Linked DNA regions of Homo sapiens: regions 1, 3 and 4 are each linked to region 2. Evidence: promoter capture Hi-C in 16 types of primary human blood cells and fetal thymus (Javierre and others, 2016). All regions are on one chromosome and are shown on one strand. Each heading gives the region's core, a stretch centred on a gene start or on the middle of the fragment in contact. The rest is flanking DNA. Distances are from core to core; before and after follow the strand shown.

Evidence for each region. The method cuts DNA at HindIII sites, captures the fragments that hold promoters and counts their contacts. A CHiCAGO score of 5 or more calls a contact.
Region 1: a contact is called between a fragment that was not itself captured here and the fragment with the promoter of NFIA-AS1 in region 2, in 1 of 17 cell types (total CD8 T cells). The highest score is 5.3, in total CD8 T cells.
Region 3: a fragment that was not itself captured here is called in contact with the fragment with the promoter of NFIA-AS1 in region 2 in 1 of 17 cell types (erythroblasts); the score reaches 6.4 in erythroblasts.
Region 4: a contact is called between a fragment that was not itself captured here and the fragment with the promoter of NFIA-AS1 in region 2, in 1 of 17 cell types (monocytes). The highest score is 5.3, in monocytes.

Annotation. Positions count from the first base shown.
Region 1 is chr1:61,017,773-61,023,611 of GRCh38, forward strand. No RefSeq gene overlaps it. Among named protein-coding and RNA genes, the nearest start is that of NFIA-AS2, 50 kb to the left of the region's middle. The HindIII fragment of the contact is 936 bases long and covers 2,167-3,102 here.
Region 2 is chr1:61,250,385-61,256,657 of GRCh38, forward strand. It overlaps NFIA-AS1 (NFIA antisense RNA 1), which reads right to left and starts at 3,134. Exons shown (of 4, transcript NR_104180.1): 1 at 3,027-3,134; 2 at 901-985. All of the region lies in intron 2 of NFIA (nuclear factor I A), which reads left to right. RefSeq lists an enhancer at 1-334. The HindIII fragment of the contact is 2,782 bases long and covers 2,731-5,512 here.
Region 3 is chr1:61,094,823-61,100,788 of GRCh38, forward strand. The region is part of intron 2 of NFIA (nuclear factor I A); the gene reads left to right. Among named protein-coding and RNA genes, the nearest start is that of NFIA, 15 kb to the left of the region's middle. The HindIII fragment of the contact is 805 bases long and covers 3,524-4,328 here.
Region 4 is chr1:61,069,217-61,074,866 of GRCh38, forward strand. No RefSeq gene overlaps it. Among named protein-coding and RNA genes, the nearest start is that of NFIA, 11 kb to the right of the region's middle. The HindIII fragment of the contact is 3,582 bases long and covers 1,548-5,129 here.

The sequences.
Region 1 (5,839 bases), core at 1,385-3,884, 230 kb before region 2:
TTGGTGAAAATTATCAGCTAAGGTTAGCAAAAGATCCAGGGGAGGAAAGAAGGAAGTCTAGAGTCTTCATGCATGTGAAAGGGACATTTTGGAATTACTTTCATTTTTGTCACAATCACACACATACATACACAATTAGGCAATTCCTAATTACAAGCATCAAAAAATAACGTCAAATAATTCAAGAAGATTCTTTTTAACTCCTATGATTATTATGCCATCAACTATTCCTAACTAGTATTTGTTAGTCAACAAAGGAGAAGTTGTTTTGTAAAATTTTTCTGCAATCCACAAAATGTATTTGGTTTGGTATTTCTGGTTAATTAGTTAGTTCTATGTAAATTGATACATTTCTGGTAATAAAAAGAATATTTCAAAAATAACTTCTTCCCTGGATGACAGAACAACAAATAAACACTGTGCCTTTTTTTTTTTTTTTTTTTTTTGAGACTGAGTTTCGCTTTTGTTTCCCAGGCTGGAGTGCAATGTCACAATCGTGGCTCACCACAACCTCAGCCTCCTGCGTTCAAGCAGTTCTCCTGCCTGAGCATCCCGAGTAGCTGGGATTACAGGCATGTGCCACCAAGCCTGGCTGAATTTTGTATTTTTAGTAGAAATGGGGTTTCTCCATATTGGTCAGGCTGGTCTCGAACTCCCGACCTCAGGTGATCCGCCCACCTTGGCCTCCCAAAGTGCTGGGGTTACAAGCATGAGCCACCGTGCCCAGCCCAACACTGTGCTTCTTGCACTGATTTCTGCCAATAATATGAATTATTTTAGGGCATGTATAGTGGGTTCCACATGTGTTGAATTTAACCCCCTGATTTAGAATGCTTGTCAGAGACTTCTTTGCAGACCACAATGTCATTGTGTCTCCAGGTTTCTTTTAAAATTTACATTTGCTCCTGAGGAAAGGGCAAGGTAAGCAGAACTAAACTAATATTTGTAGAACTTCTCTCTGCACTGGCCCTTCAAGGATATCATCTCACTCAATCCTCATTGCAAACTAGTGAAGGAGCTATTATAATTCTCATTTTATGAGTGAAAGTGTGAACCCCAAAGAGTTTTATACCTTGCCTAAAGTCTTTCAACCAGTAAGTGGCAGAACCAGGATTTGAACCTAGTTTTCTCAGTCATCCATGGCTCTAGTTTAACTTCTAGCTGTCAAAACAATTGAAAAGGATCCACCAAGATAAAACAGAAGTCACTGATGAACTAGAACAGGTGCTGAAGCTATAAGATGGAGCCTGAGAGTCAGCCTTACTCTTTGACTTATGTTAAAGAAACATCACTGAACAATGAATTTCTAGTTCACTCATCTTTAGGAAGAAACCAAGAAAGATTTCAGTCAATCAATAAATACCTAGATGCAGTTAAAAGCTTGGCAGATAATAACAACAACAACCGTAATCATGATAATATGTACTGAGTACTTACTCTATTCAGTCCTTACTCTAAGCACCTGAGAGACGTTAACTCTTCTAATCCTCATGACATCTCTGTGAGGTTGGTACTATTATCATCCCATTTTATAGAGGAGGAGCTGGAGAAATAGTGAGGTCACGAGGTAAGTGACAGAGCTGAGTTATCCCAGGCAGTCCTCTAAACCACACTGCCTCCATAAAGGAGATTCAGGAGCATACAACATCAATAAACAGAACCATGTTAATACAAGAGTGTTTTTTATCCACAGAAATAATGATGCCTGGCATGTTTATAGAACTATGCAATTTATAAAAAGGATTCATGCATTCATCATCCCAACTGATTCTCTTAAAGTAGTCTGGATGTATATATTTTATCCATACTGCACAGGTTCTTTCATTCATTCAATTCAAATATGTATTGAGCACTTCAATTCAACTAGCTTTGGAGAGAGAGCAGTAATCAAAAAGTATCTCACCCTTGCCTTCATAGAGCTTACTGTAGCAGACAGGACATTCTTTAATAAATAATCACATGAGTATGCAATTACAAATGGTACTAAGAACTATGAATGAAAAGTACTGGGAATGCTGAGAGCATATAATAGGGAATGACCTAGTCACACACTCTCAGACTCACTGATAGAACTATCCTGGAAGGTAAGATGTTCCTGAGAAAGCTCATTTGAGCTGAAGTCTAAGGACAATTGAGAATTAATTTAAATGCAACAGTATCAATAAAAGCTTCCTACCATCCTATTTAAAATTGCAAGCATTTTGCATACTCCTTACCCATTTATGTTTTTCTGTATCAATTATCATCTTCTAATGTACTATATAATCTACTTATTTATTATGTTTATTTATGGTCTGATTCCCCCTCAATTAGAATGTAGATGCTATGAGAATTTTTAAATCAGTTGCATTCACTCAAGTGTTCTGCATATACAGCCCCTCGGTAATACTTGTTGAATGAATGAATGAATGAATGAATGAATGAACAAAGAAACCAGTAGAAGGTGTTTGGGGGTGTAGGGGCTAGCAGTCAGATGGGATTTCTCAGTAGACAGGTGCCTTTTTTAAATGTCCTGAGGCAGAAGAGCACATAAAGCTCTTAAAAGAACTCAAGAGGCCCGGTACAGTGGCTCATGCCTATAATCCCAGCATTTTGGGAGGCCAAGGCGGGTGGATTGCTTGAGCCCAGGAGTTCAAGACCAGCCTGGCCAACATGTTGAAACCCTGTCTCTACTAAAAATACAAAAATTAGCTGGGCATGATGGCATGCACCTGTGGTCCCAGCTACTTGGGAAGCTGAGGCAGGAGAATCACTTGAACCCGGGAGGCAGAGGTTGCAGTGAGCCGAGATCATGCCACTGCACCCAACCTGGTGACAGAGTAAGACTCTGTCTCAAAAAATATATATACAAAAATTAGCCTGGCATAGTGGCACATGCCCATGGTCCCAGGTACTCAGGAGGCTGAAGAGGGAGAATCACTTGAGCCTGGGAGATGGAGGTTGCAGTGAGCCAAGATTACACCACTGCACTCCAGACTGGGCAATAGAGCGAGACTTTATCTCAATAAAATAAAATAATAGAGGAACTCAAGAAGACCAGTGTGTCTGGAGTGTAGAGAACAGAACAAGTGGGAAAGTGGCAGGAGATGAGATGGACAGGAAAGCTTGGGCCCTTTGCTGAAGAAATGGAAAGTCAGGGTGGACAATCCAAAAAAAGGAGGCATGATTTGGACTCCAAGTTAGATATAGCCAACTCTGTCATCTCTCACACTTCTCCAAGAGGTGTGCATTCTCCATAACAGGGAAATATAGAATACTCCAATTGGAGAAATATTTAATACATTTTTTAAAGATGGTCACTTAACATGCTTGAGGCAGAAGAGCCTGATGGGTATGGTTGATTTATGAGTATCTGGATATTGATGCAGGGGGTGTCAAAGTGCATTAATTTTGTAGAGTTTCCTAATTCTAGTTTGTTAAAACATAATATTTAAAAAGTGGTATCCTAGATCATTTACTGTCTCAGCTAGGGATAATTGATATTGTGGCAGATAGCCAGCATTGTTGGCAGAAAGAGAATCTTACAGGAGGCCAGCAACATCAGACATTCCAGGACCCACTGATAGATTTCTACCTGCCAGCCCCAAAGCATCTTTGTCCTCTTACAGGAAAGAGCAAAGTGTTCCTTAGCCAGGCGGGTGGATGGTGCTCTCCTTTATGTCCCTGCTTGAGGCTCAGGAGAGAGAGGTTTGTGTCTTTTAATTAAAACAGATCTTTGTCAAACTAGTGTTTTGACTCAAAGCTTATTTAATAGACTCCCAGACTATGCCTAACATGTGGTAAGAGTCATGAAACCGTGTGGCACGGTATTACAGAAGGTGCTTTGGGCTTGCTTCTGTCAAACAAATTAAATGCCTGCACTTCATACACTTTACAAGGCCAAATTAAACACTCATCAAAGAGGAGATGCCTTTTAATGTGCAGTGCCTGCAGCCTCCTTGACACTAGCTAGCTTGCTCCACAAATCCCAGGCTGTCTCGGCTAAATACAGGACAATGGCATTTTCTCTCCTGAGCTGTCGTTTCCAAGATTTAGGTCTTCCCTACAAGGATACTTCTTTTTCCAGCAATTCTGAAATTCTAGTTAGCACCTAGAAGATGTTAGCTACCCTTTTGTTCTTCTTCTTCTTCTTCTCCTTCTCCTTCTTCCTCACGGAGTCTTGCTCTGTCACCCAGACTGCAGTGCAGTGGCACAATCTCACTTCACTGCAACCTCTGCCTCCCAGATTCAAGCGATTCTCATGCCTCTGCCTCCCAAGTAGCTGGGATTATAGGCACCTTCCACCACGCCAGGCTAATTTTTTTGTATTTTTAGTAAAAACCGGGTTTTACCATGTTGGCCAGTCTGGTCTCGAACTCCTGACCTCAGGCAATCTGCCCACCTCAGCCTCCCAAAGTGCTGGGATTACAGGTGTGAGCCACCGCACCTGGCCAAGGTAGTTCATTCTTGCAAATAAACATTGTTGAAAGTGTCAGTTATCCATCTTTCCTAGAAAGTATTAATATTTCATAGTAAATTAAATGAGACCAGCATGCCAGAAGCCCTTCCCAGACTGTTCACAAATTGAGGCTGTGATAATTAAAATGTGATTCCATTTTCTGACATGGACACTGCTACTAATTCTTTGGTTTCTATAAACTAGAACTAGCTAGCACACCATTTAAATTAAAATCTAGACTAAACCTTACATAAGCATGCCAGGTTGTGCTTTTGCCAGTCATGTATTGACCTGGGAAATGCTTTGATAAAGTACTACCTTGCTCTAAGTTATTTCTTTGTATTCCAGCTTTCTATTCATTCTGGAATTTTACATTCCAAAGGCTAAAAGAGACCTTGAAAAATCATCTAGACAAGGAATTCTCAAATATAAGTCAGCTAAACAAATGCATTAGAATGACCTGAAGCACTTACTAAAAATACACGTTTCCAGACTTCACCTCAGACCTACTGAAACAGAAGCTCTGGTTGTGGAATGTAGGGACCACATTAGGAATAAGTTTCTCAGCCAGTGCAATGGCTCATGCCTGTAATCCCAACACTTCAGGAGGCCGAGGCGGGAGGATCACTTGAGGCCAAGGAGTTCGAGACCAACCTGGCCAACAAGGCTAAACCCCGTCTCTACTAAAAATACAAAAATTAGCTGGGTGTGGTGTCACACACCTGTAATCCCAGCTACTCAGGAGGCTGAGGCATGAGAATCATTTAAACCCGGGAGGCAGAGGTTGCAGTGAGCCAAGATAGTGCCACTGAACTCCAGCCTGGGCAAAGGAGCAAGACTCGATCTTGGAAAAAAAAAAGTTCCTCAAGAGAGTTTAGATCCTTCCTCACCATGTTTGAGAACCAGTCCTAATCTCCGTCTTACCCCCAGTCAAAGATAATATATAAGCCCACTTGGCTGATGAGCCCTTACATAGAGATACAATAAACAGTCCTCCATTTTTTTTTTTGAAATGGAGTCTTGCTGTCTTGCCCAGGCTGGAGTGCAATGGTGGGATGTTAGCTCACTGCAAGCCCTGCCACCCAGGTTCAAGAGATTCTCCTGCCTCAGCCTCCTGAGTTGCTGGGATTACAGGAGTGTGCCAACATGCCTGCTAATTTTTGTATTTTTAATAGAGACGGGGTTTCACCATCAAACTCCTGGCCTCGTGATCTACCCGCCTCAGCTTCCCAAAGTGCTGGGATTACAGGCATGAGCCACCACACCGGGCCCTCCCTTTTAAATTACTATTTAGGAATAGAGAAAGGCCTCAAGCTGCTTGCATTAATTTCACATCTTCATTCTATTATCTGGGTTAGGTAGGGCATTGTGTTTCAAGAAAGAGTAATTCAACCTTTAAGT
Region 2 (6,273 bases), core at 1,884-4,383:
GGCCTCTCTTTTTGTTCTGCTCCCCAAGAGCAATGTAAATGTTGCTCTTTGTTTTGCTAAAAGAGGAATGTTTATTTTTACAAGTACCATGCCACTTCCATATGATCTACATGGTATGTGTCATGAATATAATTTCTGTATGATTGGCCAAATTTTTCACTTTTAATTAAGATGACCAGACAAAAATTTGAATTGTAAGAAAATTATGGGCCAATTTAGTGCCTGTTGAAATGTACACTGGATATTGAAATGTTCTACAGAGCATAATGAATGAAAGTAAAAAGGCTCTATCTCTTTTCTGAAGCCTACTTGAAAATTTTGCTTTCATAACATGACATTGAAAAAGATACTATAAAAATATTTATTAAAATCATAGCTCGAGTTTTTTCTTAGAAGTAAGAAATTATGTTTAATATCAAGGACTTTACTACAGGATAACATGATTGTGTTTCACATAGAAAAACTTTGTTGAAAAATCAGTGTGGAGTTGAGTTCATCTGGGCCCTAGCTGAAACTAATTTTACTTTTGGATATTCCATAAACTGCATACATCTCTTTCTTACTGTTTTGTTTTTCTATGTATGAGAAATCCATAGACACAGAAAAAAGATGGAGAGCCTTCATTTCTCTTATTTTCACTTTTGTCCCATCCCTCTGTGCTTGTTCTTTGTTTAAATAAACTTTTGTTGTATGTCTTTCACACATCATCACTCTCTGCTTCAAAGGCTTCTTTTAATAACTTAGCCCTGGCTCACTTTTCTTTTGCATATGAAATTGATTTAACTAAAGTGTATGTGTGTGTTTGTGTGCGCATATGCCTACATACACATGCATCCGTACAAATAAAAATTTCACTGGAAAGGGAACTCCGTGATCTCTTTACTACGTACATACACACACCTTGTCGAAGTGGGAAAACTTAAGTTTGGAGTTAATTTGGTTTTGAGTTCCAGCTTTTTCTCTTAGTGCTGTCTGTTTCCTCACCCTGAAATGAAGATGGTAATGTTTACTTTGCAAAAGTTGCTGGGAAAGTTATGTATATATAAATCACTTTATTTTTATTGCTAGACATTCAATAAATGCTAGCTGTTACTGTGACCATCATTATTGTCATATATGTAACACAATTATGTCATACATTTATTTTGAAGCTGATAATAAGTAAACTGATAAAAAGCAGAAGGTTGAGATTAAGGCTTCTTATTGCTAAAAGATTGATCTTAAGTACAATCACGTGAAAACTGATAGTTACATAACCTGAAAAATCATAAAATACTGAAAAATTATGACTGTTATGTGATTGTTTTCAGTTGTCAGACTACGTGATGTTAAAATGGCAGTTGATTTTTTGTATTAACACAGTGCCTCTAATTTTAAAAACTGCTTCAGCAATCATGTATTTAATGAAAACAGAAGTAACGATACAAAATAACAAAAATATAAATAGAGTTCAGAATTTGAAAATACTGTATTAGGAGGTAAGCTGACTATTTTTCGTGTTCTTTAAATATATTTAGATCAACTTGAATATTAAGCCTCCTACAGCAGGTAGATAGAGGTATCAATTCAGTTACCATTTAAAATACAGTAACTCCAATGAGGAGTTTCTTATAATTATTTCTAATTACTTTTTGATATTAGAAATTAGAGCTATACCAGAATGCTGGGAAAGATGTCTTTTTCAACATTGTATCACAGCATCAAGCATTATGCATCAAACATCAATTCCTACTCACAATATCCATTCAATGTATATTTGGATTATATTTTCTTTGGATAGACCCTCATAGTAGAAACTCTGTATTAACCAGCTTGCAAGATGAACCAAGACTTTTTGTTTTCTTTGTAATATACTGATTCCTTTGGCATGTTGAATTTTCATGGCCAACAGTTACCTACTACCACATCCTAGCACTATTGTTTTTACCAGTTGTGTGCTTACCACGTCAGTTGTGTTATTCCGGACCTGTTTATACTAGTCTTATTTGTATCACCATTGTGTAATTTAATTAAATTTATGTGAACCAATGGCATGCAAGTTCAAAATGGAAAAGTTTTATTTCTATGAAACTAACCCAGTGCCTTGGAAAGAATCAGTAAAGGCAAGCTACAAAAATTTCTGTCAGATTACATGTCAGTGAGATAACTACAGAAGATGAGAGAAGGTTGTAAAAATAAGAGTTTTGTTAGATTATTTTAGAAATATCTTTAAATTCTCCCACTACTTAAAGTAAATGGAACTGGAAATCTTTTATGATGCATTATAGATACGCATTATATAAGAAAGATGCTGTGGAGCTCCAATTATTAACAGACATTATTAAATTTAAATTTTTGCCTCTGCATAAAAAGATTGGCCAAAGAATGTACATACACATGCTCAAAGTTAAAATGTTTAAGGTGCATATGTCTCATTAATGAGTATCTTCTTCATCCATTTTTTCAAATTAACCAATCAACAACTGGCCCTAACAGTACTGGATAAGGTAACTTCTATTCTATTTTGTATTCCTACTCTTTACAGAGTTTTAGAGATGTTTTGTTTCCTACCTACCAAGGGAAAAAAAGGGAATTGGCAGATAGAGTTTATATCTTGGGATGAGATGTGTAAAGGGCCAGGACCTGAAATTACGTGAAGGTTGATATTCTGGGATTGGTAGTTTTGAAGTTCCATAAAGAAGTTCAGTCCAGCCATGTTCCAAATGCTCTGAGTATAGGCACTGGCTGGTAAGCTTAGTGGAGTGTTATACAACATGGAAGTCTAACTGGCAGTTCAATGTCCCAAAAGTTGGACAGAACCAAGAAATAGAGAACATAAGCAGATGACAGTAATCCAGGCAGAAGGTTAGTGTCAGAGAAGTCTGTCAGTGGGTCATAGGGCTCCACGTGCTAGCCTGGGTTTCCGTGCCAGAATTTTGTTCTTGGGAGGCAGGTAGGGAAAAGCAAGTCAACATCTCCAGTTCCAGATGAGCTAGGGCACTTGACCAAATACAGGTACAGAAGTTAGTCCTTGAGGTAGAGCTTACCTGTTGGAGAACATGGCAGAAATCATTGTACCAAAATTGGAGCACAGGTCAGAGGCTAAAGCATGGCTTACTGCTGTGGCTCATGGTGAACTTGAGCTTCTCATGGCCCCTCCTATCTCCTGAGGATGGCTGAGCTCACAGATGGGGACTGTTATGTAATCAGAGGTCAAGTGGTTTAGCTGGGGTGGCAGAGAGCCAGGTGAAGACTGAAAGTGTTCAAATAAGGAAGAGAACAGAATTGCTTTATGTCTGCCTTCATGAAGACAAACCCTAATAGCCAAAGGACTGAAAGTTTGCCCAAAGAGACCTCAATTTTTGAAAGGAAAATGCATCTTCTCCTTATGTTAGAATGACCACGTCTAAATAAAATAAACTCTTTTGCCTTTTGTTGTTACTTGTCTTGGTATCTACCATTGTTTGACACTAAAAAAAAATAAAGCAGTGACTAATTATTGGCTAATTTAATCTGTCATGATGGCATTTGTAATTCAGGTACATCCTTCATTAAAGCAAGTATAGGCATTATTATTTTTAAAACTTTTTTTTTCTATTTGGATTTCTTCTATTTTGTTTGATTATTTATTTTGTTGTTACTGGTGGTGGTGGTGTTTTACAGTGAGACATACTGGTTAGCTCAGCTAAGGTGTTTGAGTAAGACTTCATAAACATAAAGTACTTTGTGTGGGTTTGTTTTGTGTGTTCCATCTTACGTCATTTGTGGCACTGAAAATGAGATTGCAATTCCCAGAGTACTGGGATAGTTCATTCAGAGGTTAGCCCACCTAAGTTTATAGCAGTTGTCTGTAATAGAATTGTAACTAATTTCCACTGTTGTTTTTGGAGAAAACTGTAGACTATAATTATGTGTTAGCACTTTTTAAACAGCTCCCTGCATTGTCATATCATTTTAAATGGGCTCTGTTTTAAAATGACCTTTCATGTTTTGATTGCAAAAATATAGCTTACACAGGTCTGTAGTTAGCAAAATACAAGGATCCAGTAAATGATAGAGCATTGACACAACTCTAGAAGCATGTGTTAAACATCACTGGCACTGCCCTAGGTTTAAAGGGGAAGAAATAGGGAAGTAGAAATTCACTGTTCTTCAACACTCCTTCTGTTGGATAGGCAAGATTAGTACATAGAACAGTTATGGAGCCATGTGAAAAAAAATAGTAGTTATACAAATGTAAAATGCTACACATGAAGTATATTGCATTACCTTTTTGTGGCCTATGGAAAGAAGTCTCAGAGCACAGTAAGATTCAAGTACCATCTCCCAGAATTGGGGTCAGCAACACCATTTTATATTTTGGCAAATGCTACCCACTGTCTCCCAAACGGCAGATATCTGCATATAGTTAGTCATGTGGACACACCCTTCCTCTGCTACATTGCATTGCCATATTAGTAGTAGAATTTTAGTGTTGATTTAAAAGACAGTCTGCCTTAAAGCAGATTGCATAGTTTGCACACTGTGAATTGTAATTAAAGTGTAAGGGGGGCTTATTATGTCAACAACTGGCATGAGAACCCCCGAGCAGCAGGTGACCCTGACCATGTGACGTTTGTGACAGCTAGGATCCCCTTTTCACTGGCTTAGCGATCTGAAAGTCCAAATTGAAAGAAGCCCAGAGGCTGTATATTTCATTAGATCCCAGGGGAAGTACAGGATACAGCTTCCTTCTGTTTTCCTGGGAGGTCGCCAGAAAGTTTGTAGAGCTCTGTTTCTGTCAGAGACTCAAAAGAGAAAAGAAAAAGCACACACAAAACAAAACAAAACACCATACACACCACAAAACCATCCACCAATCACCCCCAGGACCATAAATTTGACATTTCCCACAGTCTGAGACCACAGTGTTGCTGTGTCAGCAATACGCTCCTTGTTTGAATTGTCTGAAAGGAAGGCTCAGTGTTCTAGCTTTTAAAAAATGTGTAATCTTCAATATGCAGTGATTCTCTTGGTGTAAAACCATGAGAAATTATCAAGTACAGATATCATATGATTTGCTTGAAATACTTTTGCATTATGCGTTACTTTCTCCTGACCTTCTAAAATGGGGCATAAGTCCGAATTTAGAAAGAGGAAACCACATGTGTAATAAGGGAAACAGACTAAGGAGACATGCCATGTGTATTTCAGATCTTATTGTGATGGGTAAACTGTTTGAAATGTGGTCACATTAAAAGTATGTTACTTTGTGGGAGACTCAAAATCTTTTACGAGTAGATTTTTATTGTGTTCCATAGTGGAAATAGAACTAGGGTTTGGTTTTGGTGGGAAGTTTTGGTCTTCAAGTCACCTTGGCACCTGACTGGCAGTTGTGAAACTAAGTAGAAAAGATACCTCTTTTTTCTTGGCACCTCACACGGGATCATAGGATTCTTACTATCATACAATTTATATATCACAGAAATGAAAACTTCGGTACTTTGTTGTATAATACAGATCTTGTGCTTGTTGATTTTTAATTTGGGGCTCAAGCTTCCCATGTCAACTAATGTGGCCGCTGCTAGGCTGCCCTCGGGTAGACCAAATGTAAGCTCACTAGGAAGTATTTCTAGCTCTGTAAATACCTAGCATATCGTTTAGTCCAGGCATGTCCAATCTTTTGGCTTCCCTCGACCACATTGGAAGAAGAAGAATTGCCTTGGGTCACACATAAAGTACACTAACATTAACGATAGCTGATGAGCTTAAAACAAAAATCGCAAAAAAATCTTAGCATGTTGGCCAGGCATGGTGGCTCACGCCTGTAATCCCAGCACTTGGGGAGGCCAAGGCGGGTGGATCATTTGAGGTGAGGTCAGGAGTTCAAGACCAGCCTGGCCAACATGGTGAAACCCCATCTCTACTAAAAATACAAAAAAAATTATCTGGGTGTGGTGGTGCGTGCCTGTAATCCCAGCTACTCAGGAGGCTGAGGCAGGAGAATCGCTTGAACCGAGGAGACAGAGGTTGCAGTGAGCCAAGATCGCACCTCTGCACTCCAGCCTGGGTGAGAAAGTGAGACTCCATCTAAAAAAAAAAAAAAAAAAAAAAAATCTCATAATGTTGTAAGAAAGTTTACGAATTTGTGTTGGGCCGTGTTCAAAGCTGTCCTGGGCTGCATGTGGCCCCTGGGCCGTGGGTTGGACGAGCTTGGTTTAGTCCCTAAGTGTTGTTCATTTTAAACCAGAAAGTGAGAATTTTCTGAGCCCAGATTCTACCTTTATACTGCTATTTGTTATGTTTTGGTCAAAA
Region 3 (5,966 bases), core at 2,676-5,175, 150 kb before region 2:
TATTTTATCTAATGGAATTAGTCCTCCCGTTAGTGTTCTAGCTAAATAAACATGGCTTATGAAGTGAAGAAATAAGTCCAACAAATGACAAGTTGCAGCAACTCTGAAGCAGAAGATATTTTTGCTTTTCTGTTTGTAAAACAAGCTAAATAAGATAAAACTGAGAAAAAGAAGTTCATTTGTATTGTGTATTTTGGCAAATCTTGGTCTTCTTTAAAATGTTGCTAACCCTAAAACAAGAAATGATGAGGATAATTATGATAACTAGAGATTGAAGTGGAATAACTGTAATGTTCTTTGAGAACTTTAAACTTACTTCTTTTCATGTCTTTCAAATACTTCCCTAGTGGTAGATATTTTGGACCTAGATCAATTGGGAGTAGAGAAAAGGAGATGGAAGGAAGGAAAGGAAATAACTTTTATTGAATGTCTGTTCTGCAGCAGGCACTGAGTAAGGTTTGTCATAGTCATATATTGTAGCTTGCTGTCGCTTTCATAGCAGTATTATGAATTAGTAATGCACTCTCTATTTGAACGGATGAGGATAGACTCTTCAGAGTGGCCAGGTTACATGTCCAGAGCAAGATTCAAACCCAGGTCTTCTGATTTCAAATCTTATGCTCTTAAACAATTCAAATTCATTTTGTATCCTTCTTTATATCTTATTGTTTAGGGTTGGATGTCGTTTTCATGGTATCACACACCTGTCTTGAATCAAAGGGAAAGTAAAAAGTCAAAATCCAAACCCCTCCCATTGAGATATTTCACTGTCAAATTCAGATGTTAGCCACAGAATGAGGCCACACTTGATAAAGAGAGAAATGATGTTACACTTGTCACTGTTAGGGTCAAAATCTGAAATGATTTGTTCTTTTTTGTTTTTATAATGTTGAAATTTAGTGAATAGAAGCATTATGACACAGGTTTAAGATTTTTAGTTGTTGTTAAGACAAAGTTAAACTAATTCGTTCTAGATGCTTTGAGAAGCCTTTGTGTATTAAACTAAGCACTATTTTAAAAACTAAATTGCATGTAATTTTTACTATGCAGATTTTTGTACATGGTTTTATATGTACAAGACATAATATATATTTCTAATTTCCCCTATACATTACATATATTTTTATATATATATTTACAGACAGAGAAATATATATCTATTTCTAACTTCCCCTAATGATTGGATTTTAAAATGTAAAATTCACTTTGCTCTGAAAAAATCCTTTGGTTATGGCTGTGTGTGTAATTATTTAAAATAAAGCCAAAATCATGTTTGAGAAAAGAATGGAATTTTATTAGTTTAAAATTAAAAAATTAAAATAGGAAAAAAATTGAAGATGGACATGTTTCAATTTCGTGCCCTTAAATTAGTGAATTAGTGAGCTTTTTTTTGTTGTTGTTGTTGTTTGAGACGGAGTTTAGCCCTTGTTTTCTAGGCTGGAGTGCAGTGGCATGATCTCGGCTCACCGCAATCTCTGCCTCCCTGGTTCAAGCGATTCTCCTGTCTCAGCCTCCCGAATAGCTGTGATTACAGGCATGCACCCCCATGCATGTAATTTTTAGTAGAGACAGGGTTTCTCCATGTTGGTCAGGCTGGTCTCGAACTCCTGGCCTCAGGTGTTCCACCTGCCTCGGCCTGCCAAAGTGCTGGGATTACAGGCATGAGCCACCACGCCTGGCCATGAGCTTTGTTTCTAACTCTTTAAACTTAGTCAAGATTAGTTCTTTTTTTTTTTTTTTTTTTTTTTGAGACGGAGTCTTGCTCTGTCACCCAGGCTGGAGTGCAATGGCATGATCTTGGCTCACTGCAACCTCTGCCTCCTGGGTTCAAACAATTCTCCTGCCTCAGTCTCCTGAGTAGCTGGGATTACAGGCTCCCACCACCACGCCAGGCTAATTTTTGTATTTTGAGTGGAGATGGGGTTTCACCATCTTGGTGAGGCTGGACTCGAACTCCTGACTTTGTGATCTGCCCACCTCGGCCTCTCAAAATGCTGGGATTACAGGCGTGAGCCACCGCGCCTGGCGACAAGATTAGTTCTTAATGATTTCAGTGCAAAAACTCAAAGCCTCACTCAACATAATTTTTATAATTGTAAATAGAAAAAGATGACCAATAAGTATAATTTATACTATATTAAGTCATTATACATATTAATTCTTCTAAGGTTTAATTTAAAAATAAGCAGCTGAACTGAACTTACAGCAAAGAAAATAAAATAGCTTTCTTTTTAAGAAATATTAATGAATCTTAAAGTTAGGGTTGTGTAGCATCAGTTATGCTAGAAAGGGAAAACTGAGTTTGAGGCATGTGAAGAAAAGTGATTAAATTGGTTAAAAAAATAGTACTCATATCCTATTGTCAACTGTATCTAGTTCCATACTGTATGTATTTTTATATCTCTGGTAAGTGCTTATGGTGGTCCCAAATAACTTGTGAGTTTCCAGACATAGACAGTTCTCAGAGCATGTGTATTCATATAAATTTTTAAATGGCTATTGCTGTAGTGCTCTACAGGTTAAAAAAAGTGAGGCGAAATTGAAACATTTAAAAAATACTGTACTATTTAAAAATTTGTATGAATGTCTGTGTAGCAGCTGCCATTTTCAGGCTGTCTTTGTTGCTATGGTTTGGTTGATTTTATTTCCTTTTGTAATTTTGCCAGCCAGTGATTGGGTAGTACATTGCATTCATGCTGTTGGGGAAGATATATCTGTGGTGAGTCAGATAGCTTGATCTGAGTAGTAATTTTTAGTAGGGAAAGGTATTTGTCAGTGGGTAATAGAAACTGTAGTGTTACATTACCCATCTTCATTTAATTTTCAAATTTACAGACATGTCACTTAATATCAGAAATTCAGAACCATCTCTTTTGCAGTGATATGTACTTGCCTCTCTCCTTTTGTCCTGTCAGATGCACTTAGAATTCTGTGTAGTTTAATCTTAAAGGGATTAGTTATTTAATTTTAAGCTCCTACATAAAATGAATATTGTACATACAGGGTCCCATCATTGTCACTTTCAAATATTCCATTGCCTTTCAAAGGAGCTGACATGACAAGTCCTTAGGTTGACAAATTCTCATCAACTTTTATGAAAATGTTGGCTGCAGAAGGAGTAAAGTCAAAGGAGGGCCATAGACAGATGGCTTTCAGTGTTGAGATGACATCAAGCCCTTCTTCGTGGCATTTTTTAACATTCCAAATGAATGAGGGATGGAGATGCTTAAAGAGCTTACTATAGAATAAGTAATTAAGATATTGTGTATCTGCATGTAAACCCCTGTTGCATACTATTAAACAGAGTTGTGCAGGCTCAGATATAATAGCAGATTAACAATGACAATTGTAAATATCTTTTATGCTGAATGTAACTCATAAATAATATTACACATTAACATGTTGCTGATGGAAAACTGTGTACCTGAGAACATATTTTCAACATTAGATAATTGAGAACTAACGATAAGTGGGTTACCAGTGTTTGAAATGAAGCAAAGATTCTAGATAAGAACTTGGCAAAAGCTTATTTGCATAAGAAATTTTGCGTCTTTATATGACTATGACAAGATTTTTTTGGATGGATGCACACCATATAAAAATTACTAAGTTACTAAAGTTTCTGATGGATTCATTTAGTTGGCTTTCCTCCCCCTCTTCTTTTAAATGGTAGAGGTTCTCTTTTGGAGAGTAGTTTCAAGTAACTTCTGAGAATGAAGTCTTTGTAACGATGCTGTTCAACAGCGTAACTATTGTTGTGCATTCCTGTCAGGGAAAGATAGTCATTGCAGTACTTTTATTGTATGGCCTCTTAATATGTGACAAGGACTTTTATTAAGAATTCTTTTCTTAACATACTTTTAGAAGTCTCTCCTTTTCCCACATTCAATCAGTAACTACAGTTTTAAAAAAATATTTAAATGAACTTTTATTGATTTCTTAGCTTACTGTATAGACAAAAATCTTACGTTTAAAAAAGGTTTTAAAATTAATGTATTTTAGAGTTTCAGTAAAATGAAGTGGGAACAAAAATTAACAAAAAAGTGCCATCTCATTGGATCCAGGATATGTAGTAATACACACACACAGTTCTATGTCTGTGTAACCATATATATATATGTATACACAGTTCTTTGGAGAATGAGGATATTTCAGTCCAAAATGTTATGGTTGAAGAACTAATTGTTCTAAAGATATTTGCCCCTGGCCCCAGAAAAGACGACAAACATGCAAAATGGATAAATGTAATCCTTTGTACTTTTACCACCTACATTTTTAAACTACAGTAACTCTGATTTCTCTAGAAAGGTCAGAGGTTTCAGACAGAAAGCTTTGTAATTCTTCAAAGAAAGACATTTTCAGTTTGGCTGTATAAAGACTGATTATGCATAGCTTTTTACTTTATGTGCGGTTGAATCTTGGAGGTGCTGGAGTGGGGTGGGGACGATGAATAAGTGAAGCTGTGTTTTGAGACATTAGAATTGGAGGGAAACAGACAGATTGGAGAGGAACATAGATTCATATTTTTGGGCTTTTTACTATCAAGTCACCCAGTCTAAAACTCAGGACAGAGCAGCATTAACCATTCATTTTGCTTTGTGATAGAGCATTCGATTACCAACTCTTTAAACTCTTTTGGCAATTCAAGGAGGTTGCCTATCTGGGTACCATTTCTTAGGATTTGCTTTGTTGGATTTTCTAAATTGTGGATGTGAGTTTCTTTGGTTTTGCATTTTTTAAAAAAATTTTTTGGTCCTTTTTAACTTTTCCAAGTTTTGGAGAATTTTTCATGTTGGGCGGTGTTGGAGAAGTAGAGATTGTAGATGACCTTCGTTGTGGCTTACTCCTGTTATTTGGGAAATAGACGTTCAGAGAGCATCTCACTTGAGGCCACACCAACAGTTAAGAGGCAAAGCCAGCATTTAAGCCAACTCCCTTAGATCCCAGACTTTTGCCCTAAAACTATATTATTTAAATTATCTTTTCTTATGTGTTTTTAAATTAGCCCTTCATATAAACTTCAAATTTTAGGTAGGGGAGCTTTTATGGTTCCCTTTATGCCAGTGAGGAAACAGCCAGAGAGGTTGAGTAACTTGTCCAGGGTTATATGGTTAATAAGTGGTTAGGATTAGTAACTAGGCCAGACCCTTCTATGGCCTGTTTTTATCTCTAAGATGATCCCCAGTATGTTAGACTTGAAACTATGGATGGAGTGAAAAATATTCTCTGCAAATACATCAACACTCTGAAAGCCATTGTTTTCTCTGTTTAGAAAGTAGTTGAAAAAGTAGTGAGAAACTAGAGCTTTTTCTTTTCTGGTGTTAGTTTCAGCTTCCTACCTTGAAGGGAACCTTAAGGCCCAAACCTTCTTTTTTACATTTGAGGATTCTAAGTCCATGCATCTCGGAAACTATGGAGACGGGAACTTCTTGTGTGAGTTGGAGAGCAGTTGTAGACCGTTATCATTTCCATCGGTGCGGATGCTCTTTGGGTGGTGGTGGCATAGAAGATCTGTTTTGGTTACCTTTATTGACAAGCTCTACTGTGTGACTGGCAGTTCAGTTCAGCAGATAGGTTTCCAGCACTAATCTTAGGCACTGTGATAGATTCCCGAGATGCAAAACTGAAGAAAATACCTTGAGACAAGTCAGTGCCATCTCAGATATAATTTCCTCAGAAATCAAGATTTTAGAGCATTTGATGTTTTTAAATTAGAGTCCTTTCAACTAATAGCCTGTATGAAGTTTTTAAAACACTTATAAAAAATTTATGGTGATTATTATTATTTTGAGACAGGGTCTTGCTCTGTTGCCTAGCTGGAGTGCAGTGGTGCAGTCGTAGCTCACTGCTGCCTCAAACTTCTGGGCCCACACAATCCTCCTACTTCAGCCTCCTAAGTAGCTGGGACTAAAGGTGAATCCCAACACCCTGGGCTAACTTAAAAAAATATTTTGTGGAGATAGAGT
Region 4 (5,650 bases), core at 2,089-4,588, 180 kb before region 2:
GTGGTGCCGCGGGCCTGCAGTCCCAGCTGCTTGGGAAGCTGAGGCAGGGGGCTTGCTTGAGCCAGGGAGGTTGAGCCTGCAGTGAGCCATGTTGGTGCCACCACACACCAGCCTGGGTGAGAGAGAGAGACCCTGTCTCTAAATAACTACATAAAATTCAAGTCACTACTCTCTATGTTACAGTTCTAGACTGTTTCTCTCACTCCTGCCTCATTTGTTTTTCCTGAAAAATTATCCTTTATCTGTCTAAACATGTTTGGGTAAATCTTCAAGTGCTAGCCTGGATTTTATAGCCACTTTTTCAGTTTAGACAATTACCCATTTTCTTTCTTCTATCAGATCTACCAGCAGTATGTCTTCACTTTCTCAGACCTCTTTTCTATGTTGATACCAGAGACAGTTATTCACGCCTTTCCCATTCCTGCAGAATATCCTTTGCATGAAGTAATGAAACTGGCACTGGACTGGGGATGAATTCTTTACCAACTGTGTGGCCATGAGCTTGATACTTCACTGTGCTACTTTCAGTTTTATCATCTGTAAAATGTGGTGGTTGGAGACTTCTGAGTTCCCTTTCAGCTTTCTGCTTCTGTGAATTGTAAACTCATACTTTGCTACCTTTTATTTATTTATTTATTTATTTATTTGAGATAGAGTCTCGCTCTGTCGCCCAGGCTGGAGTGCAGTGGCGTGATCTCTGCTCACTGCAACCTCCGCTTCCAGGATTCAAGCGACTCTTGTACCTCAGCCTCCGGAGTAGCTGGGATTACAGGTGCCTGCCACCACACCCAGCTAATTTTTGTATTTTTAGTAGAGATGCGGTTTTGCCATGTTGGCCAGGCTGGTTTCAAACACCTGACCTCAAGTGATCCACCTGCCTTGGCTTCCCAAAGTGCTGGGATCACAGGAGTCTCCACCACACCCAGCCTCGGCCTTTACTTTAGTCAAGATTTTTTCTGCTGGTCATCTCAGCAGCTCAGTTGAATATCATTTTTCAATTGGACATCATTTTTGGTCTTCTGCAGTTTATTGTGGTGTGTCGAAGATAAGAAGGATGCGACCATATGCTTACCTTTGATTATGATTACAGCCAGCTAACCATCAACATTGTATTTTAAAAAACTGAATCCTGAAGCCTTTCCTAAGGCAGATACAATGGCGAGAGCTTTGGGGAGCAATTCTAAATGAATTAAATATTCTATTTAACTACTCATTAAGAGAATGACTTTGAGTAACAAACTCCCCATAGTTTTCTGAGCCTTAGTTTCTTCATTTTTGTGATGGGAATGACAAAGTCTAAGCCACTTATGCAGTAGGAAGGTTAAAGGTGATGACCTGTGTGGAAGGCCTGTGAAAGGCAAATTCAATGCCCTGCTAGTTATACTGACAATTCCACCCTTGTGATAATGCCCTGTCTTGCATTAGCCATACTCCTGACCTTGTTTTCTATCAGAACGCAAGTCTAGAAAAAGTAACCATTGTTCCTGTCATTTACATATTAATTCACCAAACATTTACTGAAGATCTACTGTGGCACTTTGCTTATAAGCTTTCAAGGATGAATAAAATAACTGCATTTTCAAGAAGCCCATAGCTCAGTGGACAGACACACAAATAAATAACTGATGTAGAATGTGAAGAGAGCGGTCTTAGATGAGTGTAAGATGTTAGAGAACACAGAGGAGATTGACCAATTCCGCCTATGGGAGTTGGGAAACAACATTAAATTGGTCCTTGAGAAAATGGGTGAAACAGGGAGACAACTTCAGGGTCTTCTGGGCAAAAAGAATCATACAAACAAGGAAAAAGAGGGATGAACATGTATGGTATATTTGGGAGGTGATAAAAAGGGAAAACTCAGTCATTTTTTGTGGCTAGGATGAGGAGGCAGCCGAGAGAGACTGAGCAGGAGGGGAGTCTGGAAAAGTAGGCTGATAAAAAAATTAGATATATTATATACCAAATTGGAGAAAGGCCATGAGATTTCAGAGAGAAAACAATTCAAATATACCATGAGATTGTTTTGTAATCTTGATTATTAGTTATAGAGAAGATTAGGCTGCTGTATCGGAGACCTGAAAACACTGTAGCTTAAAAAAAACACAACTACGGTAGCCTAAATATAATCTATGCTGGAGAAGCGGCTCTGCTCCAGGAGGTTATTTAGGAACGCAGGTTCCTTTCATCCCGTAGCTCTTTTGTCTCCCAGGGAATTGTCCGGGTCTTTGTAGTTGAAGTTGGTATTTCAGTATCATTGCTGTCTTTGGAAAGGGCCACAAGTTCAGGACAAATCTATCTTTCTTTCTTTCTTTTCTTTCTTTTCTCTCTTTCTTTCTTTCTTTCCTTTCTCTCTCTCTCTTTCTCTCTTTCCTTTCTTTCTCTTTCTTCTCTCTCTCCCCTTGCTGCTCCCCACCACCTTTCTCCCTTCCTTCCTTTCCTTCCTTTTCCTTTTCTCCTTCCCTCCTTCACTCATTTCTTTCTCCTCTTTATCTTCTTTCTCCTCTTTCTCTCTTTCTTTCTTTCCTTTTTTTTTTTTTTTGTGACAGGATCTCACTCTTATTGCCCAGGCTGGAATGCAGTAGTGTGATCATAGCTCACTGCAGCCTCAATCTCCAGGGCTCAAGCAATCTCCTGCCTCAGCCTCCTGAGTATCAGGGACTACAGATGTGTGGCATCATGCCCAGCTAAATTTTTTATTTTTATTTTTTGCAGAGACAAAGTCTATCTATGTTGCCCAGACTTGTCTTGAACTCCTGTGGCTCAAGTGATCCTCCTGCCTTGGCCTTTGAAAAGGCTGGGGTTATAGGCATGAGCCACTATGCCTGGCCCAGGACAAATTTCTTTTAAGCAAGTGTCATGAAGTTGCAGCCAACAATTCTGCTCACAGAACTTAATCATGTGTCATATTTAGTTGCAAGGAAGGCTAGGAAATATTAACTTTATTTTTATTTTATTAGGATTTTATTTTAATAGGATTGGTTCTCAAACATGGTAGGGAGGGATCAAACTCTCTTGAGGAACTTTTTTTTTTTTTTTTTTTTTTTTGAGCTGGAGTCTCGCTCCTTTGCTCAGGCGGGAGTGCAATGGCATGATCTCAGCTCACTGCACCTCCGCCTCCCAGGTTCAAGCGATTCTACTGCCTCAGCCTCCTGAGTAGCTGGGACTACAGATGTGTGCCACCAAACCCAGAGAATGTTTGTATTGTTAGTGGAGATGGGGTTTCACCATGTTGGCCAGGCTGATCCCGAACACCTGGCCTCAAGCGAGCTGCCTGCTTTGGCCTCCCAAAGTGCTGGGATTACAGGTGTGAGCCACTGTGCTCAGCCTAATATTGACTTTAAATAGCTCATCTGTGTATCTAAGAATAGAGAAAGAACAGATTTGGGAGTGGGGAGGCAATAGTCTGCCACAACTTGCTTATTTGGGAACCTCATCAATTCCTAGATTAATTTCGCTTGTAGTGTTTATCATTTATATTGCAATGTGTGTCCTTTGAATGCCTGTGTTGATTACTTTGTCTAAAAAGTGATTTGAATGATCTAGGATTTATACAGGCAAATCAAGAAAATGTGAAATATATCTCTGTGTGTCAACATTCAACTTCGTTCACAAATTAAAACTTAAGTTGATTATTAGAAAAATATTGCAATTTTGAATTATGTTTCTAATTCTGTAAAACTCTAACATTCTAGTTTCCATATCAATGTCTTGCAAGAGGATTAAGTTTTTATTTGGGTCAACAAAGCAAAATTCCTGGAAGAGCCTACTATTTTCAAGGCATAAAGCCAACCTACACAGAAACATGAGGCTCTCAATGGGGTTAGCAACCCAAATTCACCCTACTAGATTTGCACCTGATTTCCAGTGGCATGGTGGAGCCAAGGTTACTGGAATGCAAATTCACAAAGGTGGGAAGAATTGATGTAGTGTAAACGTTTAAGCCATGTGAACTACTATTACTGGTATTATTTTAATATTATTTAATATTAGGTTTAAGGATATTAGAAGCAGCAATTTGTGGAGTAAGTAGAGCCTATTTCACTAACAGATCTTATTATACATCTTCTGGCTATTTGAATTTTGAGAAGAGTCTGGGAAAAATTTACTCCTAAATTGCCTCTGTTGATCAAAGTCCCCGAAAACCAGTATCAGCGGAGGGTCTTCCTTGTTTCCTTACCTCTCTTTCATGCTCTACTCCTTCTTCCCTTTCTCTCTTTTTCTCATTCATTCCAGCGGTGCCATAGCTCAGGACTGCATCTTTTCTCATATCTTTCTAACCACTCTCTTTGCCTCCACTACTAGAATGATATTTCTAATTTGTAAATCTTATTTTGTATATCTCTTGGTTAAATACAGCCCCTCCAGTGAAGGTTCAAAGGGTTCACAATGCTCTCCACCACCTTGGCTCTGCCTGCCTTTCTAAGGTCATCTCTAGTTACAGTAATACTGTCCAGTGCCGCCTAAGGACGTTTCAGTCAATGAGAGACCACAGATACAATGGTGGTCCTATAAGATTATATAATACTGTATTTTTATTGTACCTTTTCTATGTTTAGATATAGGAATGCTTACCATTGTGTTACAGTAGCCTATAATATTCAGTAGAGTAACCTGCTGTACAGAGCTGAGCCTAGGAGCAATAAGCTATACCACATAGCCTAGGTGTGTATAAGGTTATACCATCTAGGTTTCTGCAAGTATACTCTACGATGTTCTTACAACGACTAAATCGCCTAACAACGTATTTCTCAGAATGTATCCCTGTCATGAAGTGACACATGACTATACAAGCTAATCCTAACTAGACAACTAGCCACAATTGAATACATCCCCATTCTTTGGCCTGTTGCATACACTGACATCATTGCGTTTTCCTGGAGAGGAATGCCCTGCCCCTCACCTGTCTACCTGACTAATGCATATTTCTGTCCCAACACAAATGTCTCTTTTTTAGGCCTTAATGACTGTCTCTGCCTTAATGACCCAGACAAAATGAATCATTCTATCACCACTGCCCATTTTATACATATATATGTGTGTATATATATATATATATATATGTTGGACATAACGCTTATTACATTACACTATTAGTTAGCTTTATGTCTTATCTACCCCATTGCACTGAAAGCTTGTTAGAGGCAGGGATAATGTCTCATTCTTTGCTGTATCCCTAGCTCTTAGCACCTTCAATGAGCCTATATTGAGCACACATAATGTACTAGTTAATTTACATATGTTATCTATCTCCCATTTTCCAGATCAGAAATCTAAAGCTTGCAGAGGTTTTGCCTGAAAAAAAAAAAAATACACATGGTAGAACCAACATTAAAACCTAAGTTGAGGCCAGGCTTGGTGGTTCACACCTGTAATCCCAGCACTTTGGGAGGCCGAGGTGGGCGGATCACAAGGTCAGGAGATTGAGACCATCCTGCCCAACATGGTGAAACCCGGTCTCTATTAAAAATACAAAAATTAGCCAGGCATGGTGGCGGGTGCCTGTAGTCCCAACTACTGAGGAGGCTGAGGCAGGAGAATCACTTGAACCCAGGAGGCAGAGGTTGCAGTGAGCCGAGATCGCAGCACTGCACTCCAGCCTGGGCAACAAGAGCAAAAACTCTGTCCAAAAAAAAAAACCTAAGTTGGACTC